Linked DNA regions of Homo sapiens: all the other regions are linked to region 1. The links are contacts of gene promoters, found by promoter capture Hi-C in human tissues and cell types (Jung and others, 2019). All regions are on one chromosome and are shown on one strand. The core of a region is centred on a gene start or on the middle of the fragment in contact, and the rest is flanking DNA. Distances in the headings are between cores, read along the strand shown.

Region 1 (2,778 bases), core at 1-2,500:
ACAGTTTCTGACTCCAGAGCCAGTGGTCTCTCCACTTCCCCTAGTTGCCTCTCTACAAATAATCACGTATGGGTCTCTTTAACACATTTCTTCCTGTTCTTCTAGGAATTGTAGCCATATCCTAGCCCTAAATGAACTGGAATACAGTGAGGCTTGATTTATTATTAAACATTTTTATTAGACTTTTTTTTTTTTTCGAGAAGGACTCTCGCTCTGTTGCCCAGGCTGGAGTGCAGTGGTGCGATCTCCGTTCACTGCAAGCTCTGCCTCCTGGGTTCAGGCCAGTCTCTTGCCTCAGCCTCCCGAGTAGCTGGGACTACAGGCGCCCGCCACCACGCCTGGCTATTTTTTTTTTTTTTTGTATTTTTAGTAAAGACGGGGTTTCACCGTGTTAGCCAGGATGGTCTCGATATCCTGACCTCGTGATCTGCCCGCCTCGACCTCCCAAAGGGCTGGGATTACAGGCATGAGCCACCGCTTCCAGTCTTACTAGACTATTTTTAAGAACAGTTTTAGGTTCACAGCAAAATTGAGCTAAAGGTACAGAGATTTCCCATGTACCCCCTGCTCCCACACATGCATAGCCTCCCCCATTATCAACATCCCCCACCAGAGTGCCACAGTTGCTACAATTGATGAACCCACATTGACACCTCATAATCACCCAAAGTCTATAGTTTACATTGCGGTTCACTCTTGGTTTTGTACATTCTTTGGGCTTGGACAAAGGCATCCGCTATTACAGAATCATACGCATAGTAGTTTCACTGCCCTAAAAATCCTCTGTGCTCCCGCAAGTCTAGGTTTTTAAGGGCGAAAAGAGAGGGAAAGAAAAAAGTGTGCATTGCAGAGGCTCGACCCAACTCCAAGCCAAGTTTGTTCCAAAGTTCAGCAGCTCCCAGCTGTCCCATCTCTCCCAGTTCGGCCCCGGTCGGGTTCCTCCTCTTTTTGTTTAAGTGTCAAACAAATGGGTTTCCTGTTGACACTGGAATATCGTGAAAAGGCAGGAAGAGGCCAGGCCACCTCCTCTTTCCCCTCTTCCTATCCCGTTTATTTATTTTGCACACGTTTGTTTGGGTCGAGCTGGTGTTTCCAGCGTGTGTGGCTGTGGGGCGGCCTTAGGGGCCGATAACCCCTCCCTGAGGAGGCGAGGCCAGCCCCGAACCCGCCCGATCCGCGGTGGAGCTCTACGGGGCGGGGAAGGCAAAGAGGAAGGGGGAAGAGAGCGGGAGTGGGAGTGGGAAAGGCCAGGGATTAAGAGGCCGCCGGGACGCCGCAAGGAGGCGGGGAATCGGCTCGGCCCGCGCCCTGCCGCTGCCCGGCCGGCTGCAGGTGGAGTTCGCGGAGGTGGCCATTTCCACAGCCGCCGCCGACGCCTCCTCTCCGGGAGCCGCCTTCCCCCCGGCCCGAGGGCGGTGGCGTGGGGCGCCGGGTGCAGGCGTTCTGGGGCGCCGGGGCCGCAGCTCGCTGGCCATCCCGCGGCTGCGCCCCGCGCCTCGCCCATGGCTGAGGGCCGGCGGCGGGAGGACGAGGAGGAAGAGCTACGCGAGCGCCGCGAACTTGGTGGCCAGCGCCGCGCCCGGGGCCGTGCGCTCTCGGGCCACTCGGCCGCAGGTGAGAGGCGCGGGGGACGGGGCGGCGGGGACCCAGAGCTGCGCGCTCTGGGGCCGCTCGGGTCCTGCCCCACACAGCGGCAGCTCCTTCACGCGCCGGGATGGGACCGGCTTCTTTAACTCTCAGAGGCCAGACTCGGGGAGGGTGGCATTTCCATCGCCATCCTCACTTTCCGGCCGAGCCCGAGGAAATTCAGACCCGTCTTTAACTGCTAGTGGTCGTACAGCTGAAACTCAAATTTTCCGTGCACACTAAATCCAGGAGCTGCTGGCTTGGGACTTGTGGCCTGGTTGATGACTTATCTCTGGATGAGTCAGAGGTCAATGGCCGTCTCGGTGGACAACGACACCTTCCGAGGGGTTTGCCTGCGCCGCCGCAGCCAGGTCAGAGCACGTGCTCATAACTGAGGCAAGTCCTGTTTCGGCGTCCCTTGCACTTCGGACCTGTGACCCCCCTCCCTCCCTCCCCCAGCCGCCGAGCTCACCAGTTTTCTGTAGGACTTGTTTTCGTTAGTTGTGAGACCCTCCCCCACGCAAAGAGAAGTCCAGAATATAGCATTCCAAAAGGCCATTCATTTGGGCTGAGAATCATTTTCGGGCCTGTAATTACTTTTATGATACTGTGTTTTGGGTACACAAAAGCGGCACGGATCAAATAGTTTGGCACATTAGTGAAAGAGTGAATAAGTGTAGATCCACACCCCTTCCCTCTTCCGGGCGGCTTTTCAATCAAACATAATAGAGAGGACATTCTTTGGCCTTTGGTTCCAACTGGGTAATCCGAGTTATCTGAAAACAAGAGGGAAGAACAAACCTAGGGGGACTGGCAACAAAAGGGAGATAGGGAAGTGAGAGAGTCGGAGGAGAACGATTCACTGAGAGCCTCATTATAAAGTGGAATATAGCGAATATTCCATGAAGTGGAGAAGCTTTTCTGTGTGACTCCCTTAACCACTAAGAGAAAGTTGGAAAAATAGAGAAGATATTGTATCTGTGCGGAACAAATGGAGGGTAGAAAGTAGGATGAAAGGAAAACTTGAGAAGAACATCTTGAAGAAATAGTCAATTTAATGCCTTTGGTAGAATCTTGGAACATAAAAATAATTCTCCATGCTCATTATTACAACTTTTCATCAAAATAAGGCATTTGGCTGTCTATATGAAC
Region 2 (2,700 bases), core at 149-2,648, 480 kb before region 1:
ATGTGAGGACACAGCAAGAAAGCAACAGTCTGCAAGCCAGGAAGAAGGCCCTCACCAAGAACCAAGTCTTTCTGCATCTTTATCTTGGACCTCCCAGTCTCCAGAACTGTAGAAATAAATGTCTATTATTTAAACCTCCCATTCTATGGTATTTTGTTATAGTGACCTGAGCTAAGCAAAGCCCAAGCAAGAGATGGTGTGGTCCTGGACTAGCTAAAAGGTTTTTCTGTATGTTTTAGAACTAGATTCAGCAGGATTTTGGTGACTAGGCTTGGGAAATGAGGAGGAGAGGTCAAATATATCCTCAAAGTTGTTAACATGGGTGGCTGGGAAGATGGTTGTGTTAAGATTGGGAATACAGGAGGAGAAGCAGATTTTGTGGAGAACATAATGAGTTCAGTTTTGGACACTTAACTTTGAGGTGCCGCCAAGTATTTGCTTAGACGTGTTCAGTCAGCTGATAAAAATAGATGAGTAAAAGCTCCCCAAGGCCTCCCGAGAAGCTGAGCAGATGCTGGCACATTCTTCCTGTACAGCCTGCAAAACTATGAGCAATTAAACCTCTTTTCTTATTAAATTACCCAGTCTCAGGTATTTCTTTATAGCAACACAAGAACGGCCTAACACAAGTGTACTTACACAAAGCTAGATGGTATAGCCCACTACACTGGGCTATATGAAATAGCCCATTGCTCCTAGGCTTCAAACCTATACAGCATGATACTGTACTGAATACTGTAGGCAGTGGCAACACCATGCTAAGTATTGGGTGTCTACATATACCTAAACATGGAAAAGCTACAGTAAGGGTACACTATAAAAAATTTAAAATGGTGCACCTGTATAGGGCATTTATACCATGAATGGAGCTTGCAGGACTGGAAGTTGCTCTGTGAGTCAGTGAGTGAGTGGTGAGTGAATGTGAAGGCCTGGGACATTACTGCACACTACTGTAATCTTTATAAACTCTGTAGACGTAAGCTACATTACATTTATCTAGAAAATAATAAATTAACTTACAGCCTTCAATAATAAATTAACCTCAGCTTACTGTAACTATTTTACTTTATACATTTTAAAATTGTTAAAAGCTTTTTGTCTCTTTTGTAATAACACTTAAAACACAAACACATTGTACCAATGTCTGAGAAATATATTTTCTTTATATACTATTTTAAAAGCATTTTTCTATTTTTAAAATTATGTATTTTCTTTACATTTTAAACTTTTTTGTTAAAAACTAAGATACAAACACAGACTAGCTTAGGCCTACACAGAGTAAGGACAATGAATCTCACTGTCTTCCACCTCCACATCTTGTCCCACTGGCAGGTCTTCAGGGGCAGCATGGAACTGTCATCACCCATGCTAACAATGCCTTCTTCTAGAATAGCTCCTGAAGTAACTGCCTGAGGCTATTTTGTAGCTAACTTTTTTCTAAGTAGGAGGAGTATACCCTAAAATAACGATTAAAAGTATAGTGTAGTAAATATATAAACCAGTAACATAGTTTATTATTATGATCAAGTTTTACATACTGTACATAATTGCATATGCTAGACTTTCATGTGGCTGGCAGCACAGCAGGTTTGTTTACACTAGCATCACCACAAACACGTGAGTAATGCATTGTGCTACGACTTTCCCACGGCTACAACCTCTGTAGGTGGTGGGAATGTTTTAGCTTCATTATAATCTTATGGGACCACCATTCTATATGTGGTCTGTTGTTGACAGAAAGGTTGTTATGTAGTATATGACTGTATATTCGTCCCACGGAGGTCAAAGGGGAGGGACTTAAAACGTTTGCCGAAAATAATTTAATCTAAAATTTAAAAAATAATTGATTTTGTCAAGTGTTTCAAAGATGTCCAGTAATTAGACGGAGGGGAGGGGAGGGGAGGGGGAAACGGGGATAGCCTTGACTATCCCCGTAAGTGATGAATAATCTAAAACATTATATTTTATTTTAAAACAATTATGAATATATCATAGAGCAGAAGGAAAGGTTAACATAAATTTTAAAGATTAAGAGGAGAATTCAAGAAAAAGTATTTTCAGGTACATTTAGAGCTAGAGCCCAGCAGCACGCAACCTTCTCTTCTGCCACTAGGGGCACTGTGCTGGGAAAGTCTGAGGCAGCGCCATCTTCCTGAGAAGATGCTCAGAAACCTCAACTGAAGAAACTACTCCGTGAGCCTAAATACCAACCCAGGAATTTAGAACAATCTTGGTCATCCAGCGACTTTTTTTTCTTTTTAGAAAAGGGAAATTATTGAGGGAAATTTAGGATTTTGCAGGAGTCATGAATCTTACTGGTTCCCAGGATTTCTTTTATTTCTTTAGAGGGAAATTATTCGGTTGTACAAAACACCTTTTAACAATAAGCCTATAAAGGAAAAGAAACATCCTCCCATTTGGCTGAGAATTCAGATAAGTGGCACTCTGTTCCTCTTGTCAAGTCATTCCAGTGATTGTTTGATCAGTAGTGACTTAGCATACTTTGTCTAAAAATATAGCATATCCTCATTCTCTGGGATATGCTATGTATTTGAAATTTTTGAAAATTGGCCACTACCATTTCAAGACCTTTTTCTCTACAAAATATATATGGTTCCTTAACTTGTCACTTCTTTAAGCGAAAACCCAGAGCATCCACACGGCCCCTGTGGACAGTAGTCATCAGGACCTCCGTTTCCT
Region 3 (2,700 bases), core at 198-2,697, 320 kb after region 1:
GATTTATCTGGACTCAATTCTTTTCCATTTATCTATGTGTCTATTCTTAAACCAGTACCAAATTGCCTTTTGTTTACTGAAGATTTGTGGCGAGTTTTAAAATAGGGAAGACCTCTTTATTCTTCCTTTTCAAGACAGTTTTGGCTATTCTGGGCCCTTTGCATTTCCATGTGAATTTTAGGATCAGCGTATCAATTTTTGTAAAAAAGCAAGCTGGGATTTTACTAGCTATCATGAGTAGATATTATTGGTTATATATTAATATTAATGATAATTACAAGAAATTTGGGTGAATTGGTGAAATTTTAAAACTTCAAAGTTTCCTGGAAGTGACAGACTTGATAATTTAGGTTCCTGCAAGCATACAGTTTTGTTGACCTTTGAATTGATTTATTTTAAACTGAGAAATCATTTGGGAACTGGAAAATCAGATTTTTTTTTCCTGTTTGTGAATTAATAGAAAAACTAAGTAAGCTTTTTATTTCTCATACTGACCTAGTTGAACTAATCTATTATATTCACTTTTTATAAAGCATCCCTTTTCACACACATATTCTTGAAAATATTTTAAAATAGTTTTTATATGGTTGAAACAGAAATGTCCACAATGCATTTTTGTTTTATAATACTTATATAGATGTACAATAAGGTATTTTATTTATCTTTGTATCTCCAGAACTTTTTGAAGTGTTTTGATACTTCAAAAGTGTTAAATGGAAATGTCTTAATTTTTAAAATAAAAGTACAATCTTTAGGAAGCCTAGTTCCTATTATTCTTTTATTTTTATTTTATTTAATTTTATTTTTTTGAGACGGAGTCTCCCTCTGTCACCCATACTGCAGTGTAGTGGCGTGATCTCAGCTCACGGCAGCCTCCGCCTCTGGGTTCAAGTGATTCTCCTGCCTCAGCTTCCCGAGTAGCTGACCACCACTCCCTGCTAATTTTTGTATTTTTAGTAGAGACGGGGTTTCGCCATATTGGCCAGGCTGGTCCCGAACTCCTGACCTTAGGTGATCCGCCTGCCTTGGCCTCCTGCAGTGCTGAGATTACAGGTGTGAGCCACCATGCCCTGCCCTATTATTCTTTTCCGCAAAAGATATATTGTTAAAACCTTGATGCATATTTCCTTTATTATTTTGTTTCCTATGAAGTTATTTGTTAGGCAGTTTGTATTTTTCATTGTACAATTTTGAATTACTTTAGTCTGTTTTACCCTTAAGAGAACAGTGTTGCCGGGCATGGTGGCTCACGTCTGTAAGTCTGTAATCCCAGTGCTTTGGGAGGCCGAGGTGGGTGGGATCACCTGAGGTCGGGAGTTGGAGACCAGCCTGGCCAACATGTTCTCTACTAAAAAATACAAAATTAGCCAGGCGTGGTGGCGGGCACCTGTAGTCCCAGTTACTAGGGAGGCTGAGGTAGGAGAATTGCTTGAACCTGGGAGGTGGAGGTTGGTGTGAGCTGAGATTGCACCACTGTGCTCCAGCTTGGGTGACAGAATGAGATTACGTCTCCAAAAAAAAAAAAAAAAAAAGCCTGGGTAACAGAGCAAGACTCTGTCTCCAAAAAAAAAAAGAACAGTGTCATTATTTTCAAAAGTCTCTTATAATCTACTCTGTATAGTTTTCTAGTATTCATTCATTAGCTCTCATCTAATGTGGTATATACAGGGTTTTTTTTTTTTTTTTTTTTTTTTTTTGAGTTGGAGTCTTGTACTGTTGTCTGGGCTGAAGTGCAATAGTGCGATCTTGGCTCACTGCAACCTCCGCCTCCCGGGTTCAAGGGATTCTCCTGTCTCAGCCTCACTGGGATTACAGGCGCCTGCCACCACCCCTGGCTAATTTTTTGTATTTGTAGTAGAGACAGGCTTTCACTATGTTGGCCAGGCTGGTCTTGAACTCTTGACCTCATGATCCGCCCACCTTGACCTCCCAAAGTGCTGGATTACAGGCGTGAGCCACCGTGCCCGGCCATTACAGGGTGTTTTATAATCTTGGATTCTGAACTAAATTTTTGTGGGATTTTATTTGTGGGAATCCTGTGTAGATTAGTTTGTGTAAGTTTAACATCTTTCTTGACTATTTCTTGACTATTTCCCTCTCCTCCACTTCTTATCTTTTTTCCCTACCTTCTTTCTTTCTTTTTTGAGTCGAAGTCTCGCTCTGTCGCCCAGGCTGGAGTGCAATGGCATGCTCTTGGCTCATTGCAACCAACCCCTGTCTCCCAGGTTCAAGTGATTCTCCTGTTTCAGCCTCCCGAGTAGCTGGGATTACAAGGCTCATGCCGCCATGCCTGGCTAATTTTTTGTACTTGAGTAGAGATGGGGTTTCACTGTGTTGCCCAGGCTGGTCTTGAACTCCTGAGCTCAGGCAATCCACCTGCCTCGGCCTCCCAAAGTGCTAGGATTACAGGCGTGAGCCACCGCGCCCAGCCGTTACCTTATTTCTTAACAGATTTATCTTCTAATATATTATGTAACTTAATATATTTTGCTTTTTGTCAGTTTCTGTCCATTACAAGAGTACCCTGCCTTAGTCACATGTTAGCTTTTCCCAGTTTCTATTACCTTCCGTTAACCATGGTCTGAGAATATTAAATGTAAAATTTCAGAAATAAACCATTAGTAAGTTTTAATTTGCATGTTGTTCTGAGTAGTGTGATGAAATCACTCTCTGTCCCACCAGGATGTGAATCATCCCTTT
Region 4 (2,788 bases), core at 269-2,768, 290 kb before region 1:
AATTAGCCAGGTGTGGTGGCGGGCACCTGTAGTTCCAGGTACTCGGAAGGTTGAGGCAGGAGAATGGCGTGAACCCGGGAGGCGGAGCTTGCAGTGAGCCGAGATCGCACCACTGCACTCCAGCCTGGGTGACAGAGTGAGACTCCGTCTCAAAAAAAAAAAAAAAAAAAAAAGAAAGAAAGAAAGATATATTTGTCTCTGCTCTTCCCCACCACAGGTTCTATAATGTGTCTGGGTGAGTGTCTGTCTAATTCTAGGGTTAAATATTGGGAATGTTTGCCCACAGGAGTAAACCCTATTCTCTGGCAACAGTTTTACTGGTAATAAAGATGGTGTTTTGATCTTCCATCTGCCTCATTTTTTGTATTTCTCAACTTGTCACAACTCAGATGGGGAGGAGAGCCCTTTATACCTCAATTAAACTATACTGACTTTTCTGAAACTGCAGTACAGATCCTCAGCCGTACAAATTCAGTTTCCACTGATTCACATAAATGCTTTATACTCTAGACTGAGTGCTTCAATGAAATGGAACTGTATTCTAGACACTGCCAACTGATGGCAAATGACAGAAGGGACACCAAGACAAACTCATGGCAACACACGGGCAATCCTAACAGAGAACCCTGCACAGGAAATTCTAAATTGTAGTTGGGTCCCTACCACCCTCCTGTCACCCATTCTGGCATCTCCTCTTCCCAACTTCCCAATAATCTAAACTTTCCTTTTCTGGGTGTCCAAACTCCACACCAAACCATGACACCAGGTGTGACTTATGGCCAAAGTAATCCCCAAATTATATTTTCCCCTCTCCTCTACTAACCCCCTGTCCACACTGTTTACATAAAAAATCTGTATTGTAAGCCCTCTGAGTTAAACAGCAGGATGTACACAAAATGAGTAATCAGTGAAATGAACTATTCTAGAGAGTGACTGCATTTTAAAGGATTAATATGTGATGAGACTCTAAATTATAACAGGTTGACTATGTGAGGATGAAAATTCTGAGTATACCCTTCCCAGATGAGCCTCTGTCAACACCCCCTTGCCATCCCCACCAAAGGCTAAGTGGACATACAGGCCATTATCATCAATTACTACCACTATTAATAGTAGTTCCAGAAATAGCTACCATTTATGAAGTACCAGCTCTGTGCCAAATATTGTATTAGATGTTTTACATGTATTATACAAATTAATTCACCTTGATAGAGTAAAATGGTAGGTAGGTATTAGGATTCTCATCTTACAGCTAAGAAAAGTGAGGCTCAAACTTTTGCCCTAGAAGCACACAGTAAGTGGCAGAAGCCAGACACAAACCTAAGTCTACCTGATAATAAATTTCATGGTTTTTACAAGAATTCTAACAATTTCCTGGCATTTTTGTCCCCTGCCCTCTGAAAACACAGCAGAAATCCTTTGAAATTGAATATCTGTATCAACCATTTGGAACACGTCGTCAAAGACACTGTCTCCCATTGTAAGAGTTCAATTGATGGCGTTTTAGAGGATTTATAACCACTCCCTGCCCTTTTACCTCCCTGCCATCCTTCTGCCAACCAATTCAGCTACATTTGTCAGAAGAAAGCTGTTCCCAGTGACAGATCAGGACTTTACTGCAGAAAACAGCTTCTGCAGAGAACTCACAGAGCACCCTACTCCTGGAAACCACAGAAAGAGGTGAAATTCATTATTAAAATGATAAGAGGGGGAAAAAAGCTTTATGTGAAAGACTCCCACTTTCCTACTGTCACTGGGACAAGGGCCAACAATATAGAATCAATGCTCTCAGATGCGTACAATTATGACAATACATTAAGCTGCCACTCAGAGAAGCATTAACTTCTGGCCCTTACCGCTCCTGGCAATCCCTGAAAGTACTCACATTCCTCAAACCTGGGTCATATACAGGGACTGACTCCACCAGCACCTCTGAGAGATGTAAAAATGGAGTCATTTAGACACAATAATAACTTCATTACTCTAATCACAAAACAGTGCAATTCCTGCTCCCTGGGCCCCAGGAGAATACTGGTTATCAAATATGGATCTCCAATATTCAAATAATTTAAAAGCCAGAAAATATACACCAGACTGCCAAACTTGATTTGAAATTCAAGGTTCACAAAACTTTTTTTTTTTTTTTTTTGAGACAGAGTCTCACACCGTGGCTCAGACTGGAGTACAGTGGCGTGATCACCGCTTACTGTAGCCTCGAGGTCCCAGGGTCAAGCAAATCTCTCACGTCAGCCTCCCGAGTAGCTGGGACTACAGGTGCATGCCACCACACCTGGGTGATTTTTGTATCTTTTGTAGAGACAGGGTTTCATCATGTTGCCCAGGATGGTCTTAAACTCCTTGGCTCAAGCAATCCTCCTGCCTCGGCCTCCCAAAGTGCTGGGATTAGAGGCATGAGCCAGCATGCCTGGCCTTATAAAACTTTTTTTTTTTTTTTGAGATGGAGTCTTGCTCTGTCACCCAGGCTAGAGTGCAATGGCACAATCTCAGCTCACGGCAACCTCCACCTCCTACGTTCAAGTGATTCTCGTGCCTCATCCTCCCGAGTAGCTCAGACTACAGGCGTGCGCCACCACACCCAGCTAAGTTTTGTATTTTTAGTAGGGACAGGGTTTCACCATATTAGCCAGGCTGGTCTCAAACTCCTGACCTCAGGTGATCCACCCACCTCAGCCTCCCAAAGTGCTGGGATTACAAGCATGAGCCACCGCATCCAGCCTGCAAAACATTTTTAAGAATATCTTGTGGCAGTGGTTCTCAACCCAAGTTC
Region 5 (2,731 bases), core at 182-2,681, 310 kb before region 1:
TGTGACTGGCTTACTTCACTTCGCATAATACCCTCAAAGATCATCCGTGTTGTAGCATATGACAAGATTTCCTTCTTTTTTTTAAGGTTGAATAACATTCCATTCCATTGTATATATATAACATACTCTCTTATCCATTCATCCATCAATGGACAATCTAGGTTGCTTCAACCTCTTGGCTATTGTGAATGATGCTGCAATGAACATGGGTGTACAAATATCTGTTCAAGATCGTGCTTTAAATTCTTTTAGATATATACCCAGAAGTGGGATTGCTGGATAATGTACTAAACCTATGTTTAATTTCTTGGGAAACCTCCATGCTGTTTTCCATAATAGCTGCACCACTTTACATTCCCATAAACAAGACACAAAGGTTCCAGTATTTCCACATTCTCACCAACACTAATTTTTTCTGTTTTTTGGATAGTGGCCACCCTAATGAATATGAGATAATATCTCATTGTGGTTTTGATTTGTACTTCTCTAATCTTTTCATATATTTTTTGGTCCTTTGTAAGTCTTCTTCATAGAAATATTCAAGTACTTTGTTTATTTTTAAGTTAGATTATTTGGGTTTTTGGTTGGTGGTGAGTTACAGAACTTTTTATATATTCTGGATACTACCCCCTATCAGATATATGACTCATAAATATTTTCTCCCATTCTGTAGGTTGCCCTTTCATCTTGTTGATTATTTCATTTGATACGCCTAAGTTGTTAAGTTTGATGTACTCCCATCTGTCTTATTTTTCCCTACGCTTCTGGTGTCATATCCAAGAAATTATTACAAAATCCATTGCTATGAAGTTTTCCTCCATGTTTTCTTCTAGGAGTTTTGTAGTTTCAGATCTCATGTTTAGGTCTTTGATACATTTTGAGTTAATTTTTTTATACGGTGTAAAGTAAGGGTTCAACTTCATTCTTTTGCATGTGGATATCCAGTTTTACCATTACCATTTGTTGATGAAACCGTCCTTTCCTATTGTGTAGTCTTGGCACCCTTGTCAAAGATCATTTGACCATAATACAACGGTTCATTTCTGTTTCATTCTGTTTCTTATTCTGTTTCATTGGTCTTTATGCTAGTCCCACACTGTTTTTTATTACTATAGCTTTGTAATATGTTTTAAGGAAATGTGAGCTCTCCAACTTTTTCCTTCTTTTTCAATATTATTTCAGCTATTCAGAGTCCCTTGAGATTTCATATAAATTTTGGGATTTTTTTTCTATTTCTGCCCAAAAAATGCCATTGGGATTTTGTTACAAATTGCATGGAATCTGTAGATTGCTTTTGAGTAATATGGCCATTTTAATGAAAATAAGTTTTTCAATCCATGAACACGGAATGTCTTTCTATTTGTTCTTCTTTCATTTCTTTCAATGTTTTGTAGTTTTCAGTGCACAAGTCTTTCACCTCCTCAGTTAAGTTTATTCCTAAGTATTTTATTCTTTTTGATGCTATTATAAAGAACTTTTTAAAATTTCCTTTTCGAATTGTTCATAGTTAATATATAGAAATTACTTATGTGCGTTGACTTTGTATCCTGTAACTTTACTGAACTCGCTTGTTAGTTCTAACAGTTTTTTGGTGACATCTTTAGGGTTTTCTATATATATGATTATGTTGTCTACAAACAGACACAATTTAACTTCTTTCTATCCAATTTAAATGCTTTCTATTTCTTTCTCTTGCCTAATTGCTCTGGCTAGGACCTCTAAGTGGGCATCCTTGCCTTGTTCCTGATTTCAGAGAAAAAGCTTTTAGTCTTTCACCATTGAGTAAGATGTTAGCTGCGGGCTTTTCATATAAGGCCTTTAATATGTTGTAGTTGTTTCTTTATATTTCTAGTTTGTTGAGTGCTTTTATCATGAAAGGGTGTGGAATTTGTCAAGCGCCTTTTCTGTATCAATTGAGATGACGCTGTGGGTTTTGTCCTTCATTCTGTTAATGTGGTATATTACACTGACTGACTTTCATATGGTGAAGTATCATTGCATTCTAGGAATAAGTCACACTTGGTCATGTTATACAATCCTTACCATGTGCTGTTTAATGCTTTTTGCTAGTATTTTGTTAAAGATTTTTGCATCAACAGTCATCAGGGATACTGGCCTCTAGTTTTCTTGAAGTATCTTTGTCTAGTTTTGGTATTAGGGCAACACTGGCCTCATAAAATTAGTTTGAAAATGTTCCTGGATCTTCAGGTTTTTAGGAGTTCAAGGAGGACTGATGTTAATTCTTCTTTACATGTTTGGTAGACCACTAGAGTGAAGCCATCTGGTCCTGGGTTTTTCTTTAAGATTTTTCAATTATCATTACAGTTTTGATCTCCTTACTTGAGGCAAGTCTGTTCAGATTTTTTTTTATTTCTTCATGATTCAGCCTTGATAGGCTATATGTTTCTAAGAATGTATCTAGGTCCTCTAGGTCATCCAGTTTGTTGGTGTATAATTGTTTGTGGTATGCTCTTTTTTATTTCTGTGGCATAAGGTGTAATGTCGCCTCTCTCATTTCTGATTTTAGTTATTTGAGTCATCTCTCTTTTTTCTTAGTTAATCCAGCTAATGGTCAATCAATATTATTGCTGTTGTTTTAAAAAACCAAGTCTTGGTTTCATTGGTTTTTCTATTCTTTATTTCATTGATTTTTGCTCTGATCTTTATCATTTCCTTCCTTCTGCTAACTTTGAGTTTAGTTCATTCTTCTTTGTCTAGTTCCTGAAGATGT

Evidence for each region. The method cuts DNA at HindIII sites, captures the fragments that hold promoters and counts their contacts. A contact is called where the count stands out against the background at its distance.
Region 2: a fragment that was not itself captured here is called in contact with the fragment with the promoter of SH3D19 in region 1 in 2 of the 25 tissues and cell types used here (IMR-90 fibroblasts and mesendoderm cells).
Region 3: a fragment that was not itself captured here is called in contact with the fragment with the promoter of SH3D19 in region 1 in 1 of the 25 tissues and cell types used here (aorta).
Region 4: a contact is called between a fragment that was not itself captured here and the fragment with the promoter of SH3D19 in region 1, in 10 of the 25 tissues and cell types used here (H1 embryonic stem cells, IMR-90 fibroblasts, dorsolateral prefrontal cortex and 7 more).
Region 5: a contact is called between a fragment that was not itself captured here and the fragment with the promoter of SH3D19 in region 1, in 2 of the 25 tissues and cell types used here (dorsolateral prefrontal cortex and thymus).

What each region holds. Positions count from the first base shown.
Region 1 is chr4:151,324,077-151,326,854 of GRCh38, reverse strand. SH3D19 (SH3 domain containing 19) reads left to right here and starts at 1,250. Exons shown (of 20, transcript NM_001378122.1): 1 at 1,250-1,614. The coding sequence starts at 1,503. The HindIII fragment of the contact is 31,894 bases long and covers 1-2,758 here.
Region 2 is chr4:151,801,199-151,803,898 of GRCh38, reverse strand. All of the region lies in intron 2 of LOC127898557 (a long non-coding RNA gene), which reads right to left. The region is part of intron 2 of LOC105377488 (a long non-coding RNA gene); the gene reads right to left. Among named protein-coding and RNA genes, the nearest start is that of GATB, 42 kb to the right of the region's middle. The HindIII fragment of the contact is 4,331 bases long and covers 1-2,700 here.
Region 3 is chr4:151,004,435-151,007,134 of GRCh38, reverse strand. All of the region lies in intron 2 of LRBA (LPS responsive beige-like anchor protein), which reads left to right. Among named protein-coding and RNA genes, the nearest start is that of LRBA, 9.5 kb to the left of the region's middle. RefSeq lists an enhancer at 2,425-2,700. The HindIII fragment of the contact is 8,064 bases long and covers 1-2,700 here.
Region 4 is chr4:151,613,830-151,616,617 of GRCh38, reverse strand. All of the region lies in intron 7 of FHIP1A (FHF complex subunit HOOK interacting protein 1A), which reads right to left. Among named protein-coding and RNA genes, the nearest start is that of GATB, 150 kb to the left of the region's middle. The HindIII fragment of the contact is 4,766 bases long and covers 1-2,788 here.
Region 5 is chr4:151,632,902-151,635,632 of GRCh38, reverse strand. All of the region lies in intron 8 of FHIP1A (FHF complex subunit HOOK interacting protein 1A), which reads right to left. Among named protein-coding and RNA genes, the nearest start is that of GATB, 130 kb to the left of the region's middle. The HindIII fragment of the contact is 3,452 bases long and covers 1-2,731 here.